Regions from separate parts of the Homo sapiens genome. Here regions 2, 3, 4, 5, 6 and 7 are each linked to region 1. The links are contacts of gene promoters, found by promoter capture Hi-C in blood cells and fetal thymus (Javierre and others, 2016). All regions are on one chromosome and are shown on one strand. Each heading gives the region's core, a stretch centred on a gene start or on the middle of the fragment in contact. The rest is flanking DNA. Distances are from core to core; before and after follow the strand shown. Region 1 holds the start of SYCP3 (synaptonemal complex protein 3). Region 2 overlaps UTP20 (UTP20 small subunit processome component). Region 3 overlaps UTP20 (UTP20 small subunit processome component). Region 4 overlaps ARL1 (ARF like GTPase 1). Region 5 has its middle 23 kb from the start of ARL1. Region 6 overlaps WASHC3 (WASH complex subunit 3). Region 7 overlaps WASHC3 (WASH complex subunit 3).

Evidence for each region. Contacts are between HindIII fragments. The CHiCAGO score rates a contact against its expected background, and 5 or more counts as called.
Region 2: a fragment that was not itself captured here is called in contact with the fragment with the promoter of SYCP3 in region 1 in 1 of 17 cell types (monocytes); the score reaches 5.6 in monocytes.
Region 3: a contact is called between a fragment that was not itself captured here and the fragment with the promoter of SYCP3 in region 1, in 3 of 17 cell types (total CD8 T cells, M1 macrophages and M0 macrophages). The highest score is 7.4, in total CD8 T cells.
Region 4: a fragment that was not itself captured here is called in contact with the fragment with the promoter of SYCP3 in region 1 in 14 of 17 cell types (M1 macrophages, M0 macrophages, erythroblasts and 11 more); the score reaches 15.1 in M1 macrophages.
Region 5: a contact is called between a fragment that was not itself captured here and the fragment with the promoter of SYCP3 in region 1, in 11 of 17 cell types (M1 macrophages, M0 macrophages, M2 macrophages and 8 more). The highest score is 19.6, in M1 macrophages.
Region 6: a fragment that was not itself captured here is called in contact with the fragment with the promoter of SYCP3 in region 1 in 1 of 17 cell types (neutrophils); the score reaches 10.5 in neutrophils.
Region 7: a fragment that was not itself captured here is called in contact with the fragment with the promoter of SYCP3 in region 1 in 1 of 17 cell types (neutrophils); the score reaches 5.0 in neutrophils.

What each region holds. Positions count from the first base shown.
Region 1 is chr12:101,737,143-101,741,294 of GRCh38, reverse strand. SYCP3 (synaptonemal complex protein 3) reads left to right here and starts at 1,833. Exons shown (of 9, transcript NM_001177949.2): 1 at 1,833-1,944; 2 at 3,343-3,492; 3 at 3,997-4,063. The coding sequence starts at 3,360. The HindIII fragment of the contact is 5,223 bases long and covers 1-3,704 here.
Region 2 is chr12:101,318,690-101,322,841 of GRCh38, reverse strand. UTP20 (UTP20 small subunit processome component) reads right to left here. Exons shown (of 62, transcript NM_014503.3): 23 at 3,207-3,297; 24 at 1,905-1,990; 25 at 1,213-1,338. Among named protein-coding and RNA genes, the nearest start is that of UTP20, 41 kb to the right of the region's middle. The HindIII fragment of the contact is 888 bases long and covers 1,892-2,779 here.
Region 3 is chr12:101,366,411-101,370,562 of GRCh38, reverse strand. UTP20 (UTP20 small subunit processome component) reads right to left here. Exons shown (of 62, transcript NM_014503.3): 47 at 3,864-4,005; 48 at 2,587-2,703; 49 at 672-842; 50 at 1-131. Among named protein-coding and RNA genes, the nearest start is that of ARL1, 39 kb to the left of the region's middle. The HindIII fragment of the contact is 1,122 bases long and covers 1,375-2,496 here.
Region 4 is chr12:101,394,538-101,398,689 of GRCh38, reverse strand. ARL1 (ARF like GTPase 1) reads left to right here. Exons shown (of 6, transcript NM_001177.6): 5 at 2,113-2,291; 6 at 3,020-4,152. The coding sequence ends at 3,050. Among named protein-coding and RNA genes, the nearest start is that of ARL1, 11 kb to the left of the region's middle. The HindIII fragment of the contact is 904 bases long and covers 1,957-2,860 here.
Region 5 is chr12:101,428,443-101,432,594 of GRCh38, reverse strand. No RefSeq gene overlaps it. Among named protein-coding and RNA genes, the nearest start is that of ARL1, 23 kb to the right of the region's middle. The HindIII fragment of the contact is 5,381 bases long and covers 1-4,152 here.
Region 6 is chr12:102,040,560-102,044,711 of GRCh38, reverse strand. WASHC3 (WASH complex subunit 3) reads left to right here. Exons shown (of 7, transcript NM_016053.4): 4 at 500-607. Among named protein-coding and RNA genes, the nearest start is that of WASHC3, 19 kb to the left of the region's middle. The HindIII fragment of the contact is 3,045 bases long and covers 849-3,893 here.
Region 7 is chr12:102,010,124-102,014,275 of GRCh38, reverse strand. WASHC3 (WASH complex subunit 3) reads left to right here. Exons shown (of 7, transcript NM_016053.4): 7 at 1,084-1,436. The coding sequence ends at 1,168. Among named protein-coding and RNA genes, the nearest start is that of DRAM1-AS1, 48 kb to the right of the region's middle. The HindIII fragment of the contact is 1,823 bases long and covers 1,290-3,112 here.

The sequences.
Region 1 (4,152 bases), core at 584-3,083:
TTTTTGAATCCTTTCAGTAATGAAAAATTTACAAGGTTCACTGTATCCTGTATCAACAGGTTTGATGTAGTGAATGGAATTACAGGAACAAGTCTGGGAGTCGTCATCCGTCATTCCTTACCCAATACACTGGTGTATTTAAACGAGCCAGTGGAATGCTGAGCATCATAAGGAAGAGGATTCAAAGCAAAACAGTAAACAGGAGGGTTCCTTTGAATCTCTTACTTGAACTAGGCAGTTGAAAAGTGATTGGCGTCAATAAGATCCTGAAGCCTTTGCCAAATATTAAAGAAGTAAAATATAGGCCAGGCAAGTTGGCTCATGCCTGTAATCCCAGCACTTTGGAAGGCCGAGGTGAGAGGATCATTTGAGCCTAGGAGTTTGAGAACAGCCTGGGCAACATAGTGAGACCCCATCTCGGCAAACTTTTTTTTTTTTTTTTTCTTAATTAGCCAGGCATGGTGGCACGTGCATGAGTCCCAGCTACGCAGGAGGCAGAGACAGGGGGATCATTTGGGCCCAGGAAATCAAGGCTGCAGTGAGCCGTGATCATGCCATGCCACTGCACTTCAGCCTTGGCAAGAGAGCAAAACCCTGTCTCAAAAAAAAAAAAAAAAAAAAAGTAAAATGTATGATTTCAAATAGAAAAAGGATTGCAGAGCTGTGAGCAAACTAAGGCAGGTACAAAGGTTGAAATATATTTTAAAATTATTTGGGGGAAAATACATATAAGCACAGAAAAAAGGATGAAAGGCAATAATACCCCCAATTTTAAACTGTATATTATTTCTGGGTAGTGGGATTATAGGTGAGTTTCATTTCCTTCATAAATTGTATCTTCAAAAATTGTTTTGCAATTGATAGGTGATTTCCAGTTACACCAAATAATTGTTTTACAATTATACTCCCACCCACTGAATGGGTTCCCTTTGTTACATAGATTCATCATCACTCCGTGTAGTCATATTTTGTAGTTTTGCCATTCTAGTGGACTGTCAGAACACTACATAGACTATGGGACAATTTTTTGTAATGCCAAACGCGAACGAAACTAAGCCGTGTTGTTTAACGACACATTTTCATGTGGTAATAAAACTTAGAAAATAAGGAAGGGTGAATGATTTACATAAATTTAGGATAATTTTCTTATATCCCTGAATGGGGAAGGGTGGGGTCCTGGTGAGGATCGGATGGAAAGGCCTGCCTGAGGAGATTCAGTGAATGTTGGTAAAGCCCTACTTCATAAATTAGGTGGTATGTTCATCATGTTTCATAATTTACATATTATTCCGCAATTTTCTTTTTTTTTTTCTTGACATGGAGTCTCACTCTGTTGCCCAGGCTGGAGTACAATGGCATGGTCTTGCTCACTGCAACCTCTGCCTCCCGGGTTCAAGCGATTCTCCTGCCTCAGCTTCCCAAGTAGCTGGGATTACAGGCGCCCGCCACCACGTCCGGCTAATTTTTGTATTTTTAGTAGAGATGGGTTTCGCCATGTTGGACAGGCTGGTCTGGAACTCCTGACCTCAAGTGATCCGTCTGCCTCGGCCTCCCAAAGTGCTGGGATTACAGGTGTGAGCCACTGCGCCTAGCTGCAATTTTCGATTATAAACATTTAAAACTTAAAAACTGGAAGGCACCAGGCCTCAAGTGTACTCGCAACCCGCTCCGGCGGCCAAAGCACCCTGGGCCAGCTATTTGGGCGCGCAATCGCCCCATGGGGGCGGAGCCTCGCCACCCAGTTCACGCCTGCGCTCTGCGTCCAGCCAATCAGCGACGTGTCCGGATGAGGCGGGACTGGCTTTTCTCCTGTGCGAATCCCAGCTTGCCTCAGAAGCGTCGCGGAGAAGGGGCCACCTCAGGTGAAGCGCGCTTGTGGAGGAGTTGTGGAGGACGCCTGTCGACGACCAGTAACTGGTCCTCGGCCATTGCGGTGTGTTTCAGGTGTGAGCAGGGGAGGCGTCTGTCTATCGCAGGTGTCCAGGCCAGAGGCTGCCCTTGACCAGTGAGGTAAATCTTACCTCCTGGCGTCGCCTGGGGCCTCTGACGAGAAAACGGAGGCCGCGAACCTGAGGACAGGGCCTTGAGCAGGATAGGGCCTAGTGGAAAGCGGGCGGGCTGGGCTGGGGCTGGGCCCCATCGCTACACCCTGGGACCACTTACAGGAGGGACGCGGCGGGGCCGGGCAGGGCCCTACCTCGCTCCGCGCGTCTCCCTCCTGCCCGCTCCACGCCGAGGGCGCCTTTCGTGGTTCCTCGATGTATTTGTTGTCGAAATCTTCTGCCTGTGTTCATTTTCCGAGACCTAAATTGCGGGACGTTTTTATTATTTGTCTTGATTATTATGAGCTTATTTCTGGCATCCTCATGTCGTGTCCCGCCAGCAACTATAATTTCCCCGCGTGACTGAGCGCCCTGCTAGAGTTGCCCAGATTTAGCCAGAATCTGGCAGAGGCGGCCCCAAAATTTGGAACTCCCAGGCCTCAGGGGCCACCTCTCCAGCACTGCGCGCTTGGAGTCGGGGTGGACACTGTCATTCTCTCTCATCGATTGATTGATTGAGACGAAGTCTCACTCTGTCGCCCAGGCTGGAGTGCAGTGGGGCCATCTCAGCTCACTGCAACCTCCGCCTCCCGGGTTGAAGCGATTCTTCTGCCTCAGCCTCCTGAGTAACTGAGATCATAGGCACCCGCCACCGCGCCCGGCTAATTTTGTATTTTTAGTAGAGACGGGGTTTCACCATGTTGGCCAGGCTGGTCTCAAACTCCTGACCTCAGGTGATCCACCCACCTCGGCCTCCCAAAGTGATGGGATTACAGGCATGAGCCACAGCGCCCGGCCATTTCTGTTGTTGTTTTTTTTTTTTGAGACGAAGTTTCACTCTTGTCACCCAGGCTGGAGTGCAGTGGCTGCGATCTTGGCTCACTGTGACCTCTGTCTCCCGGGTTCAAGCGATTCTCCTGCCTCAGCCTCCTGAGCAGCTGGGACTACAGGCACGTGCCACCACGCCCGGTTAATTTTGTTTTTTTTTTTCAGTAGAGACGGGGTTTCATCATGTTGGCCAGGCTGGTCTTGAACTCCTGACCTCAGGTGATCTGCCTGCCTCAACCTTCCAAAGTGCTGGGATTTCAGGCGTGAGCTACCGTGCTTGGCCTATTTATTTTATTATTTTTTAACAAATGTCATTATCTTCTTAACTTTTGGCCCCCCAAATAAATGAGGAAACTGTTAAAATTGTATTCAACAATCCTTGTTCGATATCTCCTTTGATATTTAAACTTTTACCAGTGTATTAAAATGATGTCTTTGCATTCAGAAGGTTAAAGAAATTTGTTTTTTAAAGTCAGGAAGCATCTAAATATGGTGTCCTCCGGAAAAAAGTATTCCAGGAAATCTGGGAAGCCGTCTGTGGAAGATCAGTTTACGAGAGCCTATGACTTTGAGACTGAAGATAAGAAAGATCTGAGTGGATCAGAGGAAGATGTTATTGAAGGTGCAGTACATCTCATGTTGGGCAGTGATGTCCTTCAGTTCATTTGTTTTGAACCCATTGAGACTATCGTACAACTTAGTTTGTAAAGCATTTTCAGGTATGGTCTTCCCTCCCCCGGTATTTGTGGTTACAGAACCTGCTGACACGGATGGCCAGCTGTACTTGTGTTTCTCATTTGATCCTTATATTGCAGTATCGGAGTTACAGAAGCTTATTCGGCAACTCTTGCTTTTGCAGTTATTTCCAAAATATCTGATATATAGTATGTGGCTTACTGTGACATTAACCCAGGGAGACTTGAAAAATTATTCCTATAAAATGGTCCTGAATCCTGATTTAATTTCACCTAACCTGCAGAGAATATTGCATTTTTATGTCTGCTTTGAAACTGTATGTTGGCAAAAAGCCTAAAAATCCCCAAATGAAGATGTTTCATTAAAATTTACCAAAATAACCTATTCAGTTTCAAAAGCTTTTTTTTTTTTTTTTTAATTGTCAATACAGGGAAGACTGCAGTCATTGAGAAACGTAGGAAGAAAAGGTCTTCTGCAGGAGTAGTTGAAGATATGGGGTAACGTGTTCAAAATAATTTTTGTTTCTTAGATAAAGCACTTCAAGAAAAGTTGCTAACAAATAATATATGTAAAATACTTGGCATCT
Region 2 (4,152 bases), core at 1,086-3,585, 420 kb after region 1:
AATTTTGTATATTCACTTATTCACTCCCTCAAATATTTTTATGTCTATTATAGTAAAGTTCTTAAAGCTTGCTATAAATGGAATCTTAATGCTGGCTACAAATGGAACTAAACAGAGCCATTAGATAAGTGCTAGCAGAGTCCCTGAGCATATCTGAACCAGCTCCTATTAAGGAAACAGAAGCCCAGTGGATCTAAAAGACTTTCTCTATCTGATAGAACTACACAGTAGGGGGCTGGACCAAAAGCAAACCTGTTAAATCCCAATCCCATGATCTTTCCAATTCTCATCATTCCAGAGCTGGTGAGATGAAAGATTTAAGCTTCATTTTTCTTTATACCCAGCATATATAAACTTTGTATTATTTATGGATCATCTTTTTGCTCTACCATTTATAATTAAAGGAATAATAACATCATTAAATATCACATGATATTTGGAAAACAGAGTGAAATATTTCTACTGTATCTCAACAGTAAAATTTAGGAAAATATTAAATTTAATTATATTATTGTCACAATAATACTATGGTAAGATCTTCTTTATATTAGGGCCCAGGCGCAGTGGCTCACGCCTGTAATCCCAGCACTTTGGGAGGCAGAGGCGGGTGGATCGCCTGAGGTCAGGAGTTCAAGACCAGCCTGGCCAACATGGTGAAACTCTTTCTCTACTAAAAATACAAAAATTAGCCAGGCATGGTGGCGCACGCTTGTGATCCCAGCTACTCAGGAGGCTGAGGCACAAGAATAGCTTGAACCTGGGAGGGCGGAGGTTGCAGTGAGCTGAGATCACACCACTGCACTCCAGCCTGGGTGACAGAGCGAGACTCCCTCTAAAAAAAAAATAAATAAAGATCTTTCTTTATGTTAGGAACAAAATTTAGTCTCTATACCAATTTGGCTTCTCCCAAAGGTACAATTCAAAAAAAAAGCAGCTGGCGGTGATGGCTCACATTTGTAATCTTAGCACGTTGGGAGGCCAAGGTGGGAGCATCACTTGAGCCTGGGAGGTCTAGGCTGCAATGAGCTGTGATCATGCCACTGCACTCCAGCCTGGGTGACAGAGCAAGACCCCATCTCCAAAGAAAATGCAATCAAAAGAAAATAGAAAATGAAATATTCTATTACAGTTGTTGAAAGAACCATAATACTGTACTCACAATTGTGTTTGTTATTAACTTTTTAAAAATCAGTGTTTGAACAGCATAAATACCTCATCAGAATAGGAAATAGATCTGCTCGGTGGGCTGTTTTCACTACAGCATTATCTTCTGAAATGCTAAAATGCACTATCTCTTCCTTAAAGCTTCTGTCTTCAAGCAACCTTTGTAAGTTTTCCCTTTAAAAACAGAGAACAGCACAAATCACCACTTTATCAACAGTGCTTTTGAATAATGAAAGAGTGAAATATGTACACAGAGTAATAACTAAAATAAGGTATATAGTACATATTATGGTTGATATCCATAAAGGAAAATCCTCAAAAAAATCTCCTAAAATGACAGATTTGTACATTTCAAAAGGTATAACGGATTAGAAAAGATTAGATTCTGTCCATAACTCAGCTGTTTAAAAAAGCATGATACAAAAAGCTTTCCTCAGTTCTTAGAGTGACTTTGATTCTCTAAGTAACCACCAAGATTCTATGGCATTATATTAATAAGAAGAGGAAAATGACATAATATTTACAACACAGTTTTAAAATTAACATTCTCTATTTTAGTATCATGGAGAACAACCCAACAAATATACTACTCGTTTTCATTTCTTGCTTGGAAATACGATGACCTCAGAAAAAAGGGAAACTTTCTAGGCCTTTAATAAATTATTCTAGAAGAGGCTCTTAGGCAGAAATATAAAAATCAGCTGAAGAAATAACAGTTCTTTAAGCTTCAAGTAACTTACCTGTAAGGGAGGACATGAGGATGTTTATATGTCATTATGCAATCCAAGGTTATTTTTTGCACCATTTGATCTTGGTGTAGCAACAACTAAGAACAGTATTTTACAGAATTAATGAAGTCATATATACATATACCATAGGATAGCAATTTACTTGTGGTTATTTGCTAAATGAGATTTGAAAAATTCTAAATTTTTACACAAGACCTAAACCTGATTGCTAACAACAGCTTCACATTTTCCTGGAAGTAAAAAAAGATGAACAGAATATATGCAAAGTAAAAATGGAAACAAAACTCTCTGACACCTGCATCCCACAGTCATACCCTGGGGTCTACCAGCTTTTGGGTGAGGCCAATCCTCTCTCTCTTTCTCTTTTTTTTTTCAAACAGAGTCTTGCTCTGTTTTCCAGGCTGGAGTGCAGTGATACGATCTCGACTCACTGCAACCTCTGCCTCCTGGGTTCAAACGATTCTCCTGCCTCAGCCTCCCGAGAAGCTGGAACCACAGGCACCCACCACCACACTTGGCTAATTTTTTTGTTTTTGGTAGAGACGCAGTTTCACCATGTTACCCAGGCTGGTCTCGAACTCCTGAGCTCAGGTGATCTGTCCGCCTTGGCCTCCCAAAGTGCTAGGATTACAGGCGTGAGCTACTGTGTGCAGCCTGGTGAGGCCGATTCTCTATGTGAATCTGGATTTAAGCCAACTAGGCTGGTCATGTACTAAGGAAAATCTCTTATCCTATGAAGGTAATGATAGTCAATAAGATGCCAGAAGAAACATCCAAATGAAAAATGAAAATTTTGTTTCCCCAGATGGCTTAGAATTACATCCAATGCTTACTTCATTTCTGATATTAATTTTTTTCTGCAAGCTTATCTGAAATTCAGGGCCACGTAATTATGACTGCAATGGACTACAATAGATCCTGAAATCCCAGTCCTCTATGAAGTCTGACTAAACTAGAAGGGAAAAGTAGTCACTTGTTTTTTTGTATAAACCCTACTCCCTTCTAAAAGCTAATTTCCATGATATAATTCATGCTTTGCTATTCTCACTGTTGACACAGCCAATCAATGTTTAGTCACCCAAAATGCCTTCAAAATCAGCTAAGTTAGTGCTAAAACTGTTTCTCAAGATAACAGAAAATATGTCTATTAATTAAAAAAAAAAAGGCTTTAATACTTAAAATGTAGACATGGGCCCTATTCAGCAATTATTGAAAATCTAAGCTACTCTGACAAAGAAAATGATAGAGAAAAGTTCACAAAGAATTATAATGCCAAGAGTTTATTTTACTGACCTGAAGATATAACTCATATAGTTTGGATTCCAGATATAAGGCCCGTGGATTTGAAAATTTAGAGAAAACTTGCAAATGAGCAATTAATTGCCTAAACAAAAACAAAACAGAGAGTGTTACAGAATTAAAGAATTGAGATCATTTTCTTAAACTGACATCTACAATTTTATTCTGACTAGAACTTCAAACACCCCGCCTATAGTTTCACTATTATATAAACAAGGCTTAGTTATTTACATTTAGGAAATTATTCTCCAGAAATCCCATATTTTGGGCAGGCCTGTCCCTAAAATTCAGGTTCTCCACACCAAAAAATCATTCAGTGTGTGCTCAGAATGGTTTAAATTGAACAAAAATTAGAAAGTAACCAAACTAGTAAAATATTCCAAAATTAAACTCAGATGATTTTTGGAATTATTCCTTGTCTAGGTTCTATGTGGCAGACAGGAAAGTAGTAGAATATATTCTCCCTCACTTTATTATAATGTAAATACAGATGTCAGGCAACAGAGGTCCAGGTTAAGGCAACCAATGGCTGTTGCTCACCAACAAGGAAGAAGAAATATATCTGAATATTTTCAGACTGTGGTTGACCATGGGTAACTGAAATCGTGGGAAGTGAAACCATGGATAAGGGGAGAGTATTGTATAGTGACATGAAGGCTGGCCATAATCTTTCCTGCCCCTGTGCTTCATACACTATTTCTGTTAGTGGACAAGACTTTCTTGGTTCTAGCTGTCTGGCAAACTTTCATCTTTCAGCATCAGAGAGCCTTCCCTGGGTCTTTTTTTTTTTTTTTTTTTCAAGATGGAGTCTCAATCTGTGGCCCAGGCTGGAGTGCAGTGGCACAACCACGGCTCACAGCAACCTCTGCCTCCTGGGTTCAAGTGATTCTCTTACCTCAGCCTCCCAAGTAGCTGGGATTACAGGCGTGCACCACCATGC
Region 3 (4,152 bases), core at 686-3,185, 370 kb after region 1:
TTCAGAAGACCAAAGGCAGTGGCTTGTCTTGAAGTATCATAAATGTCCTCCTCAGCATAGGCCAGTAGAACTTGGAGCTGTTTTTCAGTTATCTGGTAAGACTTGACTTTCTTGACAAGTATGGTCACACACTGCAAGTTACAATAGTGATGTTAACAGCCAGCACATCCCACAGTTGGGATCCAGTGAAATGACAAGGACTTAACACAACACACAAGTATGCTTTTCCAAACAGGGTGCCAGCCCTCTAGCCTTGGCAAATTACTCTGGAAAAAATTTTGGCCATAACCACAAAGGGCAATGGGGAAAACTAACTTTGATGTTAATCCTGGTTCTAGCTTTTTATGAGTCAGGGTCTCGCTCTGTCACCAAGGCTGGAGTGCAGTGATGTGATCATAGCTCACTGCAGCCTCTAACTCCTGTCAAGTGATCCTCCTGCCTCAGCATCCCAAGTAGCTGGGACTACAGGTACACATCACCATGCCCAGCTAATTTTTTTTTTTTTTTTTTATGTAGACACGGGGTCTCGTTATGCTGACCCAGCTGGTCTTGAACTCTTAGGCTCAAGTAATCCTCCCACCTCAGCCTCCCAAAGTGCTGGGATTATAGGTACGAGCTATTGCATCCAGCTCCATCCTGGCTTTTTCCAAGGGCAAGTGAAGACATCTCACCTTGAAACAATTGACCACAAGGTGGAAGTTCTGGCCCCTGGCGGCCCCGAGCTTTGCATAGTCCTTCAGCAGAAGGAAGAGGTGTTTTGTCAGCTGCTCTGCTTTTGTTTCTATGGAAGGTAGCGGGAACCTCAAGACCCAGATGAGGCACTGTAAAGCACCTGTGATCACCTGAAAAAAACAAAACAAAACACCACCAACTTGTGATGTGACCGAATCCAACTATGCAGCACCTGAGGCTATGCAGACTCTTTAAATGATTGTGCTGAATAAATAAGATGCTAAGCGCAGCCCACTCTGGAAGAACTGTGCCCAAAATGTAAGAAGATAAAGACATTTACAATTCCTGGTTGTAGAAGAATTTATTGCTTATCCGTAACAATGGATCCTTATGATGGTAGATCATGAGGAAATAAGAAAAGGCACCATATTCTTTTTACAATTTAATCTTTGTTTAAACATTTTTGGGCTGGTCTTGAACTCCTGGGCTCAAGCAATCCTCCTGCCTCAGCCTCCCAAGTGCTGGGGTCATAGGCCTGAGCCACCATGCCCAGCCATATTTTTAACCTACTTATAGGGGTTTATGGAGGTTATATGATTTGGATAGGTTGGTCAATTTTACAATTTTTTTGGAAAAATACATCTTAAATGACTTTTCTGTTTTCTAGAATGGTACTTTAATGTAATCTACTCTTACTAAGCTTGAATTAGGTATACAAGGCACTCTACTGGGTATTATAAATACAAAGATAAAAAGGATACCATCTCTGCATTTATGCAGCAGACAGTTAACTCAGAAATCAGGCACGGGAACAATTGACTATCATTTAATATAGTTAAGTGCTATGGCAAAAGACATGGAAAAAGTGTGCTGAGATCCCTGAACCTCTAAGGCCAAACCTTTGAAAGCACCGGGATCAGCTAGTTCAGCTCCATCTAATAACACCCGTGCTGCTCTGGCTGCTGAGAACTCTTCAGTGGGCTGGATTAAGACACAGAAGAGCGAGCTTGGGAGTCGGAAAGACCTTGGCTTACATCCCAGCTCTGCAACTGATTACCTGTTTGACTCTAGAGATGTTACTTAACCTCTCGGCACCTAGGTTCATAGCCTAGATCTGTACCTAGGCCCTCGCCCTAATTTTCTCATTTATAAAACATAAATAGTAAGAATATATGCCTCAGGGGTGGTTGTGAGGATCAGAAATAATGTTCTTGGGATTCATAGCATGGAGCAGTAATAGTGACAAAGGTGATGATGATGATGATTGGTAAGGGGACAAAATCATTCACCCTCATGAAGTTGTGAGGATCCAGTGACATACTTAAGGTACCTAGGAGGGCTTTTAGAACTGTTAAAGGCTATCCAAATTTATAGAATTAGTAAATTGAGAAGTGATTTAATGTAGCAAATAGTGGTGGTTCACGATGTCATAAATCTCTTTAAAAACTCAATAATCTCGGCCGGGCACGGTGGCTCATGCCCGTAATCCCAGCATTTTAGGAGGCCAAGGAGGGTGGATCATCTGAGGTCAGGGGTTCGAGACCAGTCTGGCCAACAAGATGAAACCCCGTGTCTACTAAAAATACAAAAGTTAGCCGGGCGTGGTGGTGTGCGTCTGTAGTCCCTGCTACTTGGGAGGCTGAGGCAAGACTGAGGCAAGAGAATCCTTTGAACCTAGGAGGTGGAGGTTGCAATGAGTCAAGATTGCACCACTGCACTCCAGCCTAGGTGACAAAGTGAGACTCTGTCTCAAAAAAAAAAAAACCCAAAAACCCCAAAAAACCCACCAACCAAACAAAAACACCTCAATCATCTCATAAAGCTTGAGCCCAAATACAACCATTAGGTATTCTGCAAAACATAGTTCTTCTGAAGAAATAAATGCTCCAATGCAGAGTGCAAACCGATGCTTACCTTCACATCCATGGAGCCCAGGCAGTCTATGAGGAGAGACACAAAAGGATCCAGCATTTCCAGGACACATTCACCTGAAGACTTGATCTTGGAAGTCTTCAGACTCAGATGCAGCAGCTAAGAGAGTTCAAACAGGTATTTCACATTAGTTGCCCATTAGACCAGATGAGTTAGGTAAATGTGAAATGATGTTCAGAGAAAAGCAAGAAATGTTAAGATACTTCTATTAGAAATGATAAAACATTTTTAAGGAATGACAAACTGCCTGGGAGGGTCTCAGTAAGTCAAAGTGAGAGCTCGCTGTGCAGCTGAGATGCTACCACTGTTTACCAGTCAATTTTCTCAGCATCTACTGTGATTCCAGGCACTGGCTCAGTACGCAGGATATGGCAATAACCAGGATGGACATGGTCTCTGTCTTGATGGATCTTAGCTAGACTCTAAGGAAATGATGATGTGTACAGGTAGGGTGCTTTGAGAGTTCTGTGGGAATCTTTGTAGAGCAAAGAGTGGGTGGTGAGTTCCTAGGGCAGGAAAGAGTATGGTGACTTTCTAGATGGGAAGGGAAGCCAGGGTGGCTGGAACGTGTGTTAGAAAAATGCGAGTCAATGAAGGGTTTTAAAAAGGAAATGATTAGATTTATGCTTTTAAAAGCTCACCGTCTTTTATTTTATTTTTATTTTTATTTTTTAGAGACAGGGTCTCACTATATTGTCCATATTGGAGTGCAGTGGTGCGTTAATAGCTCACTGCAGCCTCAAACTCCTGGGCTCAAGTGATTCTCCCACCTTAGCCTCCTGAGTAACTAAGACTACAGGTACGTGCCATCATGCCTGGCTAATTAAAAAAAATTTTTTTTTGTAGAGATAGAGTCTTGCTATGTTGCCCAGGCTGGTTTCAGACTCCTCTCCTCAAGTGATCCTCCTGCCTTAGCCTCCCAAAGTGCTGGGATTATGGGTGTGAGCCACCATGTCTGGCCACTCACCATCTCTTAAAAAAATTCAAAGTAGTTCAGAGGGACTCATGGGCAAAGCATCAGTAAGACCTTAATACATATTAGAGCAGAATCATTAATTCTGGGACAGTTACATCTTCAATGTAAGTGCTGCAAGAGATAAATAGTAAATGGACCAATGCACCTGTAAAAAAAAAAAATCTAAAATGTATTTACAGTAAGGCATTTCCAATGGAAGTGAGCAGTACTAGAAATTCAACAGAAGACTAAAAGGTGCAGACTCCCTGAAAGTAGCAAGTCTCATTTTAAGGTTAATTCTTACCCGAAGCCCGGACTCAATAAATATGTGCATGTTGGTTTTCCTGCTCACAACAGCTTTCTGTCCACCTCGAACTGGAGTTGGGGGAAGCAGAAGGCAGCTCTGGGGTGGTAGACGTGGATCTGGTGCTGGGGCTACTGGATTTCTGTCAATCACGTGGCATGAGAAGAGGGTAAAGAACACTGTCAGCTGCATTCCAAGAAGTTAGAGTGGCCCTTCTAAAGTGACGAGAGCCCAGCACTAAATAATGTGCCATTTGCTTGGGTTTTGCCCCTCCCCAAACCCCCAAACC
Region 4 (4,152 bases), core at 1,159-3,658, 340 kb after region 1:
GAGGCAGGTGGATCACTTCAGGTCAGGAGTTTGAGACCAGCCTGGCCACCCATATCTACTAAAAATACAAAAATGAGCCGGGTGTAGTAGCGCACGCCTGTAATCCCAGCTACACGGGAGGCTGAGGCAGGAGAGTCACTTGAACCCAGGAGGCGGAGGTTGCAGTGAGCTGAGATAGTGCCACTGCACTCCAACCTGAGTGATGGAGTGAGACTCCATCTCAAAACAAACAAACAAAAAATATATAGTATAGACACAAAAGCAGTTTAGGTTTCAACTTTTTTTTTTTTTTTGAGACGGAGTTTCACTATTGTTGCCCAGGCTGGAGTGCAGTGGTGCAATCTCGGCTCACTGCAGCCTCCACCTGCCAGGTTCAAGCAATTCTCCTGCCTCAGCCTCCTGAGTAGCTGGGATTGCAAGCGCACACCACCACACCCGGCTAATTTTTGTAATTTTAGTAGAGACGGGGTTTCACCATGTTGGTCAGGCTGGTCTTGAACTCCTGACCTGGTGATCCACCCACCTCAGCCTCCCAAAGTGCTGGGATTACAGATGTGAGCCACCGTGCCTGGCCTTTCAACTTTCCTATACACAAAAATGAATTCTAAATGGGTAAATAATTAAATGTAAAAAATGAAAATTATAAGAACATATAAGGAATTCAAAAGATGAGATTTAATTATATTAATGTAAACAAAACTCCCCCAAAGCTCAGATATGGCAAATATAAACAAGATTAAGATAAGAAACCAGGCCTAACCAGAAGCCAATGACTAAGGATTAGTGATCTGAATCATAGCAAGATCTTTTGCAAAATGAGCAAAAGGCAATTCGTAGGGGAAAAACATTGCTAATAACATTTGCATTTGTTTTTAAAGAGACAGGGTCAGCAGGGCGCGGTGGCTTATGCCTGTAATCCCAGCACTTTGGGAGGCCGAGGCGGGTGGATCATGAGGTCAGGAGTTCGAGACCAGTCTGAGTGACCAACATGGTGAAACCTCATCTCTACTAAAAATACAAAAATTAGCTGGGCGTGGCAGCGGGCACCTGTAGTCCCAGCTACTCAGGAGGCTGAGGCAGGAGAATCACTTGAACCCAGGATGCAGAGGCTGCAGTGAGCCAAGATTGCACGACTGCAACTTCAGCCTGAGCAACAGAGCGAGACACTGTCTTAAAAAAAGAAAAAAAAAAAAGAGACAGGGTCTCCCTCTGTCCCCTAGGCTGGAGTGCAGTGGCACAACCAAAGCTTGTTATAACCTTGAGCTCCTCTCTCTGCTTCCTTTTTTGTTTGTTTTTTAAAAAAATTTTTGTAGAGACCCCTGTGTTGCTCAGGCTGGTCTCCAACTCCTGGACTTAAGCGATCCTCCTGCCTCAGCCCATGTGCATTTCGAATACCCTAGTAATATATAATGAGATGCTATGTTTGGAAAAGTAAATAATTCCCAACTCTACAAAGGCTGCATTGAAGATGGAGACTTTTATACACTGTTGGTAGGGTAACCTTTCTGGAAAGCTGTTCATGCATGTATTCAGTTTATCAAAGCCTGAAAAAAACTGTTCATACTTTGACTCCATTTTTAGAATATTGTGTTAAGGAAACAGATTTAAACAGAAATTTTTGTATAAAGACCCTGTCACTTGGGTTTATCTAATAGTCTAGTGGAAAGACTCTAATAAGAGTCAGATACTAGAAAATAGTTAACACAGTTTATGGTGCATGCATCCATAGTGTAGAGCATATTTAGCCATTTTTTTATTTTGAAAAAGTTGTTGTAGTTTGGAGAAACATGATTTTAATTTTTAGGCAGGGTATGGAACTATATATAAATGTGATCTTAAATGTGTAAATGTATTTACTAAATAAACTCTGAAGTATCTGCAAAACAAAGTACTAGTAGAAAACACCTAAAATGTTAACAGTGATCATATTTGGGAGGTAGGATTATGAGTGAAGCTTCTTTTCTTTATACTTCTCTATATAATTTCTATATAATTTCATAATGTGTAATATATTAATTATAAAATACACGTTTAAAATGTATTTTTGGACATTTTCTAAACTCGAGAGAGCACATTAGTTAAAAGAAATTAAATATTTTCAATTTCATTTAGGAAGAAGAGCTGAGAAAAGCCATTTTAGTGGTGTTTGCAAATAAACAGGACATGGAACAGGCCATGACTTCCTCAGAGATGGCAAATTCACTTGGGTTACCTGCCTTGAAGGACCGAAAATGGCAGATATTCAAAACGTCAGCAACCAAAGGCACCGGCCTTGATGAGGCAATGGAATGGCAAGTATCATGCTTCCAGAAGCCATCTGTGCATTTGTGTGTGCTTGCAGCTATGCACGTCCACGTGTAATTTTTCTCCCGTGTTGAGGATGAAACTTTGATTTACTTAGCAGCTTATTTCATAAGTTCCTCAAGCGTTTTCTCTCACTGGTCTTCAGGTGCATCTGTCTTCTCAACCACACCTACCTGATTACAGTTACTTAGATAAGCAAATTCTTTGCCAATTTTTAGCCTTTTCCCTGCCTCACCTCACCCTCCAATTCCTTATCCTTCAGGAATTAGCTTAAGACTCTCTTCTGAAGAGCTTTTCCTAATGTATCTCTATTCCTACTGCCTAATCACTCACTTAAAGTTAGATGCCCTTGTCACAGATTAGTGACATAGTACTTGTTTTGCTGTCTTGTAAGTTTGATTTGTTCATCTACTCATTAGATAATCACCTCCTTGAGGATTGAGACTAGTTTCACCTCTGAGTCATCCATATGTAGCCCAGAAGTAGTAGTAGCCTGGAAAATAGGTATTTGGTCTTTTTTGAATTTTTCATTCAAATCATAGACAAATTCAAAGCTTAGAGGAACCTTATGGATATCTAGTGCATAACCTCATCTGTGTTAGCTGTCATCATTTTAAGTACTTTGGAATCCACCTCCAATACAAAGTTTATTATAGATGATCATGCTTTATACCTGAAAATTAATTTTATAAAACAGTTCATTTTCTCTTTACAGGTTAGTTGAAACATTAAAAAGCAGACAGTAATTCAGTCCATTCTTCTCCCCTGAAATGAAGACTACATCACCTCTCTCCCTTTGGAAACAGTCAAGTGTACTTCACACTACTAGATGTTAAAACTATATGATTATTGGCATATACTGACTGACTGCAATATTTGTAGTAAATAGGGAAAATAAGTATTTAGTTGGAGGGATAATTTGATCGAATCACCTGAATGTTCTATGTAATGTAAAATATTCTTTTCTTGCTTTCTTGTGTTAAGGTATATATTCTATTTGTATGGAATTCTTATTCAAATACAGTTCTATTAAAGAGTATACTCCTATTGGATGAAAAAAACCTATTTTTGAATAGTAGTTGCAGCTTGTTTGTATAAATACTAAAAAATATCTTAACAGATTTTTTTCCCCTTAAAATGAATTATCTTTCCAAAGATTAGACTCAGTATGAGAGTAGGTGAGGAACATAGTTTGTGTAATATAATCTTTATTTGCTTACCTGACCACTTTTTATTAAGCTGTTTTGTTTAAAAGCTTTTGGTTATAGGCATGAATATTGTTTTGATGGTTAACTTCACTGACTTATCTGTAAGTGTCATTTTATAGTACTTTACAGTTGTCAAAAAAAATCTTACATATATTGATCTAGTTGATCGGTAGAGGAAGCTTGTGAAGTAGGTAGGACAGGTTATGATGTCTTCACTGTATGGACGTGAACCCAGGGTTCTAATAGGTTGGCTTGCCCAAGGTCACCTGCTAGCTTGTAAGGTAGGAATAGGGCTCAAAGTAAAACTTTTGGTTCAGAAGCTTGACTCATAAACTATACTATATATTCCCAAAAATGTCAGTATTGACAACACAGTCTAACTCTTAAATAAAATTATGCTAATTAGTTACATTCAAAATAATGTTTATAAATTTATTTGTCTATACTAGTAGAAGTGATCAGTGACATACTATAAATAATCCTAAATGGTTATATTTGATAGAATTCATAACACATTAAAGAGAAAATTTCACATTAAAGGAAGGTTTAAAAATCTATTTTCAGATTATAAAAGGTGTCTTTACTGGTTTTCATTCCTTTTATCTACATGTAATTGGACATGTAAACTTGTTAAAAATCA
Region 5 (4,152 bases), core at 1,050-3,549, 310 kb after region 1:
TTTTTTTTTTTGAGATGGAGTCTCGCTCCGTCACCCGGGCTGGAGTGCAGTGGCGCGATCTCGGCTCACTGCAAGCTCCTCCTCTCGGGTTCACGCTATTCTCCTGCCTCAGCCTCCCAAGTAGGTGGGACTACAGGCGCCCACCAGCACGCCTGGCTTATTTTTTTGTATTTTTAATAGAGACGGGGTTTCACCGTGTTAGCCAAGATGGTCTCGATCTCCTGACCTCGTGATCCGCCCGCCTTGGCCACCCAAAGTGCTGGGATTACAGGTTTAAGCCACCGCGCCCGGCCAGCTATAAAGATTTAATGAAGTACAATAGTTGCCCCTTATCTGTGGTTTTGCTTTCCTTGATTTCAGTTACCCACGGTCAACCCTGGTTGAGGAAAATAGGTGAATACAGTACAGTAAGACATTTTGAGACAGAGAGATTACATTCACATAACTTTTATTACAGTGTATTGTTATAATTGCTGTTTTATTTTATTATTAGTTATTGTTGTTAATTTATTTCTGTGCCTAATTTATAAGTTTAACTTTATCATAGGTTTGTAGATATAGGATAAAACAGTATATATAGGGTTCAGGATACTATCTGCAGTTCCAGGCACCCACTGGAGTCATGGAACGTATCCCCTGCAGACACGGGGGGACTATGCAATGCGGTTGAAGCAAACAGCATACTGACTGGCCCACAGTAAGCGCTTGATAAATGTTAGAAGGAAGTACATGTAATGAACATTCAGTGCACACACGATAAGAATCTGTGGGATAAAGTAAACATTTGTTTTCCTTTTTGAAAAGTGTGGCTATCTTGTGACAGATACAGATAATAAAACCCATTTAGAGATATTCCATTTGTCTAATCAACAGTCTAGTAATTGCCAGTCACTGGTTGAGGTTTAAGCCTCTCAAGGATGGCAGCCATTGAGAGTTGACCCAGGTGTGGAGATGCAAGCTGCAAATGGCAGGGCTTCACGGCCGTCTGGAAGAGACTTTGTTACCTCCTTCACCTACCTGTGTTTTCTGATGCTCTTAGTATTCTTAGTTTTCCCATGTCTCAATTCACAAGATGGAAAGAACTACGGACTGAAGAAGAGAAGAGTTCAAGTTAATGAGCAGGGTGACCTCAAGGCCACAGCATCCCCAGTTGTAAAACAAGGAGACTGGAACAGATGATCTCCGAGGTTCTTCTGGCTCTAAGCATTCTATAAAAATGCCAGGCCTGAGTCAGCCCTTCTGGTCTCTATGAATTCTGTATTCTGTGTTGCTCTATTCTGAAGAACTGAGATTACAGATGACAGAGAGCTTTGCAAAACCAGAACTAAAGATGACCTCCTTCCATAAATATTTTATCAGAAGCTAGAGAACTACATAAATGAAAAGATAGTTAAAAGTGAATATTAATGTCTGTCTTCTGAGAATCTTCACTTTACTTTGTGAAGAGAAGTTTCCATCAGAGGTATGTAAACTAAATTAAGAATAGAAATTCTTTAAAGAAAACAAACTTAAATGACTAAAATCTGTTAAGAATAAGATTCATTATACTTTATAGCTCCTATTCAAGTGATACATTACTTTATTAGGTGTACTCATTTAGCTTATATTTTCCAGCATTTTCAGAAATATTATATGTTTTGCATAGTAATGATTATAATGCTTTACATTTGTGGAGCTAATACTTTACAAGTTTACCAAGAGATTTTACAGTAAATTTCAATTATAATGACTTACAACCAAAATATTTATCTGATCAAAAATTTGGTAATATGTAATATAGTTACTTACTCTTGTCAAAAATTATAAATTTATATTAGGGTTAAAGTGTATTTTATACAACAAATATTGCAAGGTGGTTAAAACGCAGCTGTTCAATAGAAATGCAAAGTAGGATGGTAGGTTCTGAAATGCTTCTACGTTTTTTCCCACAGTTGTGAGTTAAGCAATATTCAAAGAACTTCCTTATTTTAACTTTAAGATTAAAACAACTTCTCTATATCAATAATAAAGATTCTTTGTCTTTCAACAGGCAGAAAGTCCACTTCATTATTTGGTATGCAGCATGATATTTAGTATAAAGCAGATTGTTTGACCAAGCTGTTGAAATCATGATATAATAACAAATCATACTCTATGGACAAATCTTTTATGCAATATGATGCTAATTTCTCATGCATAATATATTGTGTGTATTTGGCTTTGAAAAGTGAGACAAAAACAGCAGTAGCAAATGCCAGTGTTTCAGAAGCTAAAGAGAAATTTGAAATTTAATATCAACATTTATTTTTAATATCGTTAACTTTTGAATGGATCAAATTATTGCTTAGCTTGGACTGCCTCATTTGAATAGGCTGGGGAAATTCCAAATTGGCAGTTTCCTCTATGTTCTGGAAAACAATTTTATAAAATACTGAAACATTTGATATCTCTCTGGAGCACCAATGCTATAGTAAATTATTCATTCATTCATTCATTTATTCAACAAAACTTGCAACTTACTATACCTGAGCCACTGTGGTAAGCCTCCTAGGAAAGAAAAAAATATATATAACTGGTTACTTGTGTACATAATGATAAGCAACAATTAATAGTTGTAGGTGATTAGTGTAACATTCCAAGTGCCAGCAATGGATACTATAATATAATAAAGATGGGGGGAATTGGGGAACTAGAGTAGTAATGGAAGGCTTTGCCCAGGAGAAAGAGCTTGAAAAGGTGAGTTGGATTTATATGGAGGGAAATGAATAGAGAAAGCATCTCAGGAAAGAGAAGCAATATACAGAACTTTATAGCATCAGTCATGAAAAAGACAATAAATAGACCAGAGAACATAGAACTTCGTAATTACTTCAATAGTTGTCTTAGTCTGTTTTCTGTTGCTTAAAACAGAATAACTGAAAGTGGGTAATTTATAAGAAAAGGAATTTATTCCTTATAGTTATGGAGGCCGAGAAGTCCAAGGTCAAGGGACCATATCTGGTGAGAGCCTTCTTGCTGGTGAGGACTCTCTGCAGACTCCCAAGGCTGTGCAGGATGTCTCATGGTAAGGGGACTGAGTATGCTAGCTCAGGTGTCTCCCTTTTCTTAGAAAGCCACCAGTCCTACTCTCATAATAATCCATTAATTCATGAATCCGTGAATCCAGAAATGGATTAATTCGTCATGAAAGCAGAGCCCTCATGGCCCAGTCACCTCTTAAAGGCCCCACTTCTCAATACTGCCACACTGGGGATTAAATTTCAACATGATCTTTGAAAGGTAGAAAAAGGTACAAATATTCATGCATTAGCATCCCCTGGGAGCTTGTAGAAATGCAGAATCACAGTCTGATTGTGCATGTTCAAGGTCTTTGGTGCTTTTTTTGTTTGTTTTTTTGTTTTGTTTTTTTAGAGATGCAGTCTCGCTCTGTCACCCAGGCTGGAGTGCAGTGGCACCATCTCGGCTCACTGCAAGCTCCACCTCCAGGTTCACGCCATTCTCCTGCCTCAGCCTCCCGAGTAGTTGGGACTACAGGCGCCCGCCACCACGCCCAGCTAATTTTTGTATTTTTAGTAGAGACGGGGTTTCACTCTGTTAGCCAGGATGGTCTCGTTCTCCTGACCTCGTGATCTACCTGCCTCAGCCTCCCAAAGTGCTGGGATTACAGGCTTGAGCCACCTCGCCCGGCCAGGTGCTTTGTATGTAGACATTAAAGTCTGAGGAGTTTCACTCTTGACCAATCCTTCATTTTGCAGAGGAATCTGAACCACAGAGTGGCTGGATGGCTTTCCCAATGGTAATGGCAAACCTCACTATAGAAGCAAAATCTACAGAGTCCTGGAAACAGTGAGTTTCCCCCCGATTCCACAATGTTTGACTGAACTGGAGAGAGGTAGTCAGTTGGATCTGATTATGGAAGTATCTGAATGCTAAGTTAAGAAATTCAAGCCTCATCCTTCATGAATTCAACAAACATTTATTGAACTCCAGTGTGGTAGCACTGGAGATACAGAGAAGAATAAGAAAGACGCTGCCCTTAAAAAGTTAGCCTTCTAAAAAAGTAAGTAACTGCTATTATTTAAATGTTCCTGCCAAAACTCATGTTCAAATGTAATTGCCAGTCGGGCGCGGTGGCTCACGCCTGTAATCCCAACACTTTGGGAGGCCGAGGTG
Region 6 (4,152 bases), core at 1,122-3,621, 300 kb before region 1:
TCACACATTAAAGTGTAAAGACAAGAGTTTTGTCATATCCTAGATAATTGAAACTCAAAATTTGCACAAAGCCCTTTTTTTTCGAAGTATTATCAATAGAAATATTTTTACAACAACTTTTCTAGGTACATGTTCTTATCTCCACTTTACAGGTGAGATAATTGAGACACAGGGAGTTTTACACAAGATCACACAGCTTGTGAGTGGTAGAGCTAAAAGTTAAACCTGACAGTCTGACTTCAAAGACCAGGCTCTCAGTCCTTACACTAGGATTGTCTATATTTTGAAAATGATGGTTATGTAAACTAAATTAGATTTTTGAGAAGTTCTTCAAAAGAATTTGTGACCGTCTTTCACTTTTAGTTTATGACATGGAAAATTAAAGACAAGATATTGTGAACCTATTTGTATAGCCTTAAAACTTAAGACAGCTATTAAAAATAGTGTTTATTTATGCAAGTACTATCTTCATATTCCAATACTAATTTTCTTTTCTCAGTTGTCATCTATCCCAGGCCTAGATGATGTCACAGTTGAAGTATCTCCTTTAAATGTCACCAGTGTCACAAATGGAGCACATCCTGAAGCCACTTCAGAGCAACCACAGGTAAGTGAGTTCTAAGAAACGAGCAGATGTTCTTGGTTGAAACTGATAGTGTTAAGCAGCAGGTTGGAAGGAAGAAAAATAAACATGTAAAACTTCTAATAGTAAAATTTTAAAACCTTAACATAGAAAATGAAGTTTGGGAAAAACAAATTAGCTGTGTTATTTTGAAGGGCTTCCTGAAGTTAATACTTTCTTTGCCTGTAAAAAAGAAAATCAGTCTATATAGGACTAGGAAAAAGCTTCAAATAATTATTTTCTTCAAAATAATTAGAAATTTTTCTAGGTTCTTAGAAGAAATGTACTTTTAAAATATTTTATTGTAAAATTTTTAAACATACACAAAAATAGACCTGGATTCACCAGTTTTCACAATTGCTTCATCTATTTTTTTGGTCACTTGCTGAAATTAATTCCAGACATCTTGTCATCTCACCCTGCATAAATTTTTGAGCATCTCTGAAAAGTTTTGACATTTTCTTTTGTAACATTTGCTTATATAAATGCCTTTATCATATACAGTGTAATTAACAATAATTGGCCAGGTGCAGTCACTCAGGCCTGTAATCCCAACACTTTGGGAGGCTGAGGCAGGTGGATTGCTTGAGCTCAGGAGTTCGAGATCAGCCTGGGCAACATGGTAAAACCCTATCTCCACTAAAAATACAAAAATTAGCCAGGTGTGGTGGCACGCACCTGTGGTCTCACTACTCGGGAGGCTGAGGTGGGAGGATCACTTGAGCCCACGAGGCAGAGGTTGCAGTGAACCGAGATTACACTACTGCACTCCAGCCTAGGTGACAGCGCAAGTCCCTGCCTCAAAAATAAAAAATAAATAAATAAATAAAACATTCTCTGGTATTGTCTAACCCCTTGTTACTCAAGTACACGCCATGGACCAACCACATGGGCATCACCTGGCAGCTTGTTAGAATGAAGCATCTCAGGCTCCACCCCAAAACTGCTGATGAGAATCTACATTTTAACAAGACCCCTAGGTGATCTGTAGGCTCTTAAAATTTGAGAGCTACTGATCTTAGAAATACCAGTGTGTTTTTGAAGATGATTCGTTTGAATCAGCATCCCAGTAAAAGCTATACTTTACATTTGGCTCTTAGATCTTAACATTTACTTATGCTTCTGTATGAATTTAAATTTTCTATTACTTTTTATTTCAAAAAATAAAAATTCTTTGTTGTTTGAGAACAATCTCTAGTGTATCTCAGCGAGGTATTAAAATCTAAAACAAAGTAATCATCAAAATGGTGGCCTACCAAAGTAATAATAATAAACAAATAAAACAAACAGATTTATAAATGGAATTCTGCCTTTGTACCTGGAGGCACTTTTCACAGGATATTTTTTAGATCACGATGATGTTGACAGTGATGATAACAGCTAACACTTCAAGAGTGCTTTCTGTGTACCAAGGCATGCACGTTTCTAAGTGCCTTTCATAAACTAATTTAATCTTTACAACAGCCCTATAATGTAAGCACCATATTATCAATCTTAGTTTATAGATGGGTCAAATGAGGTATATAGAGGTTAAGTAACTTGCTGAAGGTCGAAAAGTAACGTAAGAGCTAGAATTTTAACCCAGACAGTCTGGTGCCAAGAGCCCTAGCACTTACCTGCTTCACTACACTATACTACACTACACTACACTGTTTTCAGTACCTGTATTCAATTTATTTAAACATATTGAGGATGCGTGGTATGAGGCCCTGTAGAAAGAGCCATATATTTAGAATATAGTATATATTTGGGTAATAAATTAGATGATCATTTACTTAATTAGATATTATAAAATTTAACATCCATTTATTTAATATAGCAAATTTCATTATGGCCACTCAAATATATAAAATGTGCAAGAGGATATCCAGATGTTGTAGAGGAGTTTAACTTTACATTCTCTCAATTAAATATGACTATCCTCTTTCTAAAATAAAGCGTCTATAAAGAATATTAAGAAAATATTTCCACACTACCTAGTAGTTATTATGTGGTAGATAGAGCTGTCATATATTTCTGTAAGATTTTTAAGTATACCTGTCTAACTTTGATTATTAATTTTTCCAGGTGCTATTATGAATGCCATCTATAATATGCCCTTTAAAATTCTTATGCAGTTGTGTTTGTCCTCACATATTTAATGTCCCAAAAATTGATTACCAGTAATCACAGCTGAATTTCTTAATTTGCTTTGCAAATTCAGAATAACCTGGTATATCTCTGGCAATTTTATTTAAAAATTGTATATGTATTTATTTAGAGGGTTTATGAAGTTCTGTTGGCTTCCAAAGTTTGAAATACTGTGATAAAATTGTGTGTTGATTAGCTTAATAAAATAACTGCTCAGCATGTTCTTAATATTCACATCAACTTCTCATTTATTCATTGTTATTAATTGGTATATTTTATACAAAATATTTTGAAGTGGGCTTAAGTATTGCTTAATCCAGAGTTTTCATTGACATTATAGTCAACTCACTTATCAGACAAAGGAGAATAATGCACTTTTTAAAAAAATCATCTGTTTATCACTCTCTCTAATCTATACATGAGTCAAAGACCCAAGGTTTGTGTACTGATTTTTCTGCAACTTTAATTTCATGGTTCAGATTTCATCATTATTCACAATAGAATATCCAATTGTGCAGAGTGAGATTGATTTGAGAATAAATGAAGGACAGTTGAGAGATATGATAGAGGATTTAATGGGTCATTCAAATAGCAAAGGTGTAATACATTTCATAATTAAACCTTGTTGAGGTCTTGGTTATTAGGCAAAAGTTAACGACTGAGAATTGATATCTGGCCAGGATGTAGTTCATTTGCACCATTTTGCTATTATATGAGTTTAATTTCCATAAATTGTTAAAAAACATACTTGGTTATTGTTTTAATTTTTTATTTAATTAACAGTGTTTTGGAATTTTTGTATTTGTATTATAGATGAATATGTGTGTGTGTGTGTGTATATATATGTATATATATATACTCACTTTGGTAAAACTTAGCAATATCATGTAACAGAAGAAACCTAAAGGATTTTTGGATGTTTATTTGCTTTGTAGTTTTTGACAGATTTAATTTATATTTGAATTATCTGAGGAAAAACTTCAATATGTAATTCACATTCATAGTCTAAAGACTATGAAGATATAAAGATATTGATTTATCTACATTTCAGAATGAACAATAGACATAAAATTGATTTCTTCTAAGGAAATTCTTTTAATGCTTATATACAGATAATGAGAGAGATTCACCAAAGTAAGCTTTTTCTAAATGTTTGGTTTGATAGAAAAATCAAGTACTGTATACAGGCAGTTCTATCTAGTTTTGCATTTAAGCAAGGATATGGTTCTCATATGCACAAGTTTCAGTAACATGGTACCATGCAAAATGAAGACTGCCTGTATAACAATAGCATTTTTATCTAAAAAGACCATTCCCCAGTATTCTTTATTGTAAGTCATATTTAGTATGACATTATGACTTTTAACCACTCTGTAGACAATGTTACCATTAATAGTTCC
Region 7 (4,152 bases), core at 952-3,451, 270 kb before region 1:
CATGGTGAAATCCCGTCTCTACTGAAAATACAAAAATTAGCTGGGCGTGGTGGCACACACCTCTACTCGGGAGGCTGAGGCAAGAGGATGGCTTGAACCTGGGAGACAGAGGTTGCAGTGAGCCGAGATCACACCATTGCACTTCAGCCTGGTGACAAGAGCGAGACTCCATCTCAAAAAAAAAAAAAAAAAAAAAAAAAGATGTAGCAGTTATATTGTTACTCCTTTTCCTCTTGGTTTCCCCCCCAAAAATACTTTTCTTGCTTAATTTACTTTCTTGGTAAGAGTGAATAGAGGCTAAGTGATAATGCCACTACACTGATTAAATGACTTACTGGCACAAAACTATTGAGGCTTAACTAGTTGACTGTTTTAATAACATCATTAAAATTTCATTTTGGTTTATTAGAGCACATCCATGCAAAGTTGGAATCTAACCATTCTCATGTCTCCTTATAATGCCTAGGGGATCTTTGAAACAGTATTTTTGCCAACTCATACTTTCTATTTTCATTCTGTAAAGATAAAACATGTAAGTGAAAACGTTTAACAAACATTAAGAACCTTCTTCGACCAGGCACTCTCCTTCGCTACAAAATTTCCACATTACCTATTTTTTTATTAGCCATTTTTGAACTCTCTTCCATTTCTAAGTTTCTCCCTGCAGCTTTCCTGAACATGAAGCATTTCCTTTTCTTTTCATTTCTAGCTTTCCTTTCTCTGTACCTCATGTACACTTGGAAGCTTCAGGGACTTAGCACTGGTCATGCCAGCCTCTACAGATCACATCTCTGTCTATAATTGGGTCTCCATGGTAATGAGAAGCAGAAAGTGCTGAAGTAGCGCACTATGTAAGGACTGGCAAGAGAAAATACTGTCGCGGCCTCTACAGGCATAGCATTGAATCCCCATGGTGCCCAAGAAGCCCGAGAGAAGCACGCTGTGGTGTAGAGCAGGAGACTGAGGACACGGACTTGGCAGATTTATTAGCAGCAATATTCTAAGATGAACCAAATTTAAGAGTTTGTAAGTGCTCTTTTCAATTGGAAAAGACCTTTGAAATTTTTTTTTCTTTTCTTTTAGGAGGCCAGATGCTCCAGTGCCTGATGGCGAAAGTGAGAAAACTGTAGAAGAAAGTTCAGATAGCGAATCTTCTTTTAGTGATTAAGCTTAATTTTGATAAGAATTACATATGCATGCATAGGGGTACATTTACATTCTGTAAGAGATTGAGCCTGAACTCTCTTAGTCATAAAAACATCAAATGGCCACATGTCCACTACCAAGCTTCTTCTATGTTAAAAAAATAATAATAAAGCAGTTTTAACCTGCCAGTATGTCTTGTTGCTAAAATAAAGGGCCTCAAAATGAAAAATAGGATAACCTAAATAAAGTACAATTAGTGCTACAAATACTAAGATAGAATATTTTAGAGATGCAATGAGCAATTACAGTCAGGCACGGTGGCTCACGCCTGTAATCCCAGCACTTTGGGAGGCCGAGGCGAGTGGATAACCTGAGGTCAGGAGTTCAAGACCAGCCTGGCCAACATGGTGAAACCTCCATCTCTACTAAAAATACAAAAAGTAGCTGGGCGTGGTGACAAAAATTAGCTGGGCGTAGTGGCAGGTGCCTGTAATCCCAGCTACTCGGGAAGCTGAGGCAGGAGAATCACTTGAACCCAGAAGGTAAAGGTTTCAGTGAGCTGAGATTGCGTCATTGCACTCCAGCCATGGCGACAAGAGTGAAACTCTGTCTTAAAAATAAAAAGAGATGCAATGAGCAATTTTAAATGAAGTCAGTGTGAGTTTAGTGATCAATAGTAGACCCAATGCAAAAAAAAAAAAAAAACAGTGAATTTGGCTAAGTGAATTATTCAATTTTTGTGAATATTTTAGCATGAAAAGTATATGGATTCATATCATGAGTTGTTAAAGACATTTCTGGTAGAAAGTAATACTGGGTTGAAATTTCTTTGACAACTTAAAACTTACATATCACATATGTTATGGGTATGGAACTTTTTGGTAGTATTTTTTAGCATATGCAGCCTTTCACCACTTGGCCATTAGTTCATGTGTTTTTTAAGTCAGATATTCTTATGCAGTCATGCATTGATTAACAACAGGGATATGTTCTGAGAAATGCGTCATTAGGCGGTTTTATTGTACAAACATTGTGGATTTCATAACAAGTGTACTTACACAAACCTATTGCTTCTAGGCTACAAACCTGCACAGCATGTCACTGTACTGAATACTGTAGGCAGTTGTAACACAGTGGTATTTGTGTATCTAAATGTAGAAAAGGTGCAGTCAAATATGGTTTTATAATCTTAGGGGATGTTGACCAAAACATTATGCAGCACTTGACTATATTTATTAGCAGATGGAAATTGAATTGAAGGTCGTTTCAGTGTGGTTCATAATGAGTAACCATCGTTGCCATCAACTCCTGTATTACCTAAACAAAAAAAAATGTGTGCAGGATTAAAATGTTCTCACCTCACCTTGCAAATAAATAATTATTATTCATAGTTATTTACACACAGTCTAGAAAATTCCTAAAGTACTTATGTGAAAAATATATAAATGCATTTAACTAATTGTGCCCATTTTAGTTTAGTTCACCTGCAAGTAGAGCCTGAGAAAAGGACTTGGGTGTATACAGGTCATTCACAAGGTGATCCCAGAAAACAGAAGTAAAAAAACAGGGAGAGGAAAAGGGAGAAAACCACTTAAAAGTTTATTATCGGCCAGGTGAGGTAGCTCATACCTGTAATCCCAGCACTTCGGGATGCTGAGGTAGGTGGATCACTTGAGGTCAGGAGTTTGAGACCAGCCTGGCCAACATGGTGAAACCCTGTGTCTACTAAAAATACAAAATTTAGCCGGGCGTGGTGGCATGCACCTGTACTCCCAGCTACTGGGAGGCTGAGGCAGGAGACTCACTTGAACCCAGGAGGTGGAGATTGCAGTGAGCCCAGATGGAACCACTGCACTCCAGCCTGGGTGATAGAGTGAGACTCTCTCAAAAATAATAAAAAATTTAAGAAGTATGTTATCAAGATTGCCAGTTGGGGTTTGAGTGCTCCAAGACCCTCTGAGAAGCTTTCAGAATGCCTCCCAAAATTTTCCACCTAATAAAACTGGGAACATTAATTAAGCAATTTCCATCCCCCGTTAGTTGAGTTGCCTCCAGGGGCATTAATTATCCCTGCACTTCTGGGCTGTGCTTCTGTGTGGAAAAGCAGCACCCCAGTGTTGAAGAAAGACTTGGAACAGGAAGCAGAAAGATACATGGCTTCGGCTTGCAGTGGGATTTCACAAGCAGAAAGGACAAGTCCAAGCTTACTCACCTAGAACTATCCATGTAGCTGTGACTGATACCGGAAGTGGACGAGGGAATGTGCAAAAGAGATATTTGCTGCAGTCTACCCAAATGCAGTCAATTCAGAACTGATTGAGTCCCATGTTAAGTCTACTTTGTCTTTTGTCTGTGGGATAACACAAGGTGATGGCCAGCCACAGTCTTTCTAAAATCTACACATGAAGATTAGTGAGACAAGCCACAATTACTGTCACTATGACTGAACGCAAGGCCAAAACTGGTACTTATCATCTTCTTCCACCACCCATTTTACATTTCTCCTGCTCTATATCAGAAATTCCGCTGGTCTAGGCTGGTTGTCAAGCATAGTGACCCAGACCTTCATCCTTTAAGTTTTCTAGGGCTTTGATTGCTTTGCCCTGTTTAGGCTATGATTATCACAGTCATCTGTTTGCTGTTTCTTACCAGGCACTGAAGCACCACGACATGCCCCAGTGAACCACCTGCGTTCTAGACACATTCTTCCTGTTTCATTTTGTAATCACAACCCTAGCTCCTCATGTTAACATATTACTTCCTATTTTTGTCCCACAGACATGAGCAGTCCCAAGGGACCGATTGGCAGCAGTAGATTCAGCTTAGTGGAATCCTTACTGTGCTCCCCCATGGAAGTGTGCTAGTTCCTTCCCCCTACCCCATCTGGGAACTGGGACTTCCAGGAAAGTCTGAGGCGGCAGGGATGGGAAGCACAATTACAAAAGAATGTCACTGAGAATGGTGGAGAAGGATCATTCCTATTTCTTTTCTCTTGGTTCCTGGATC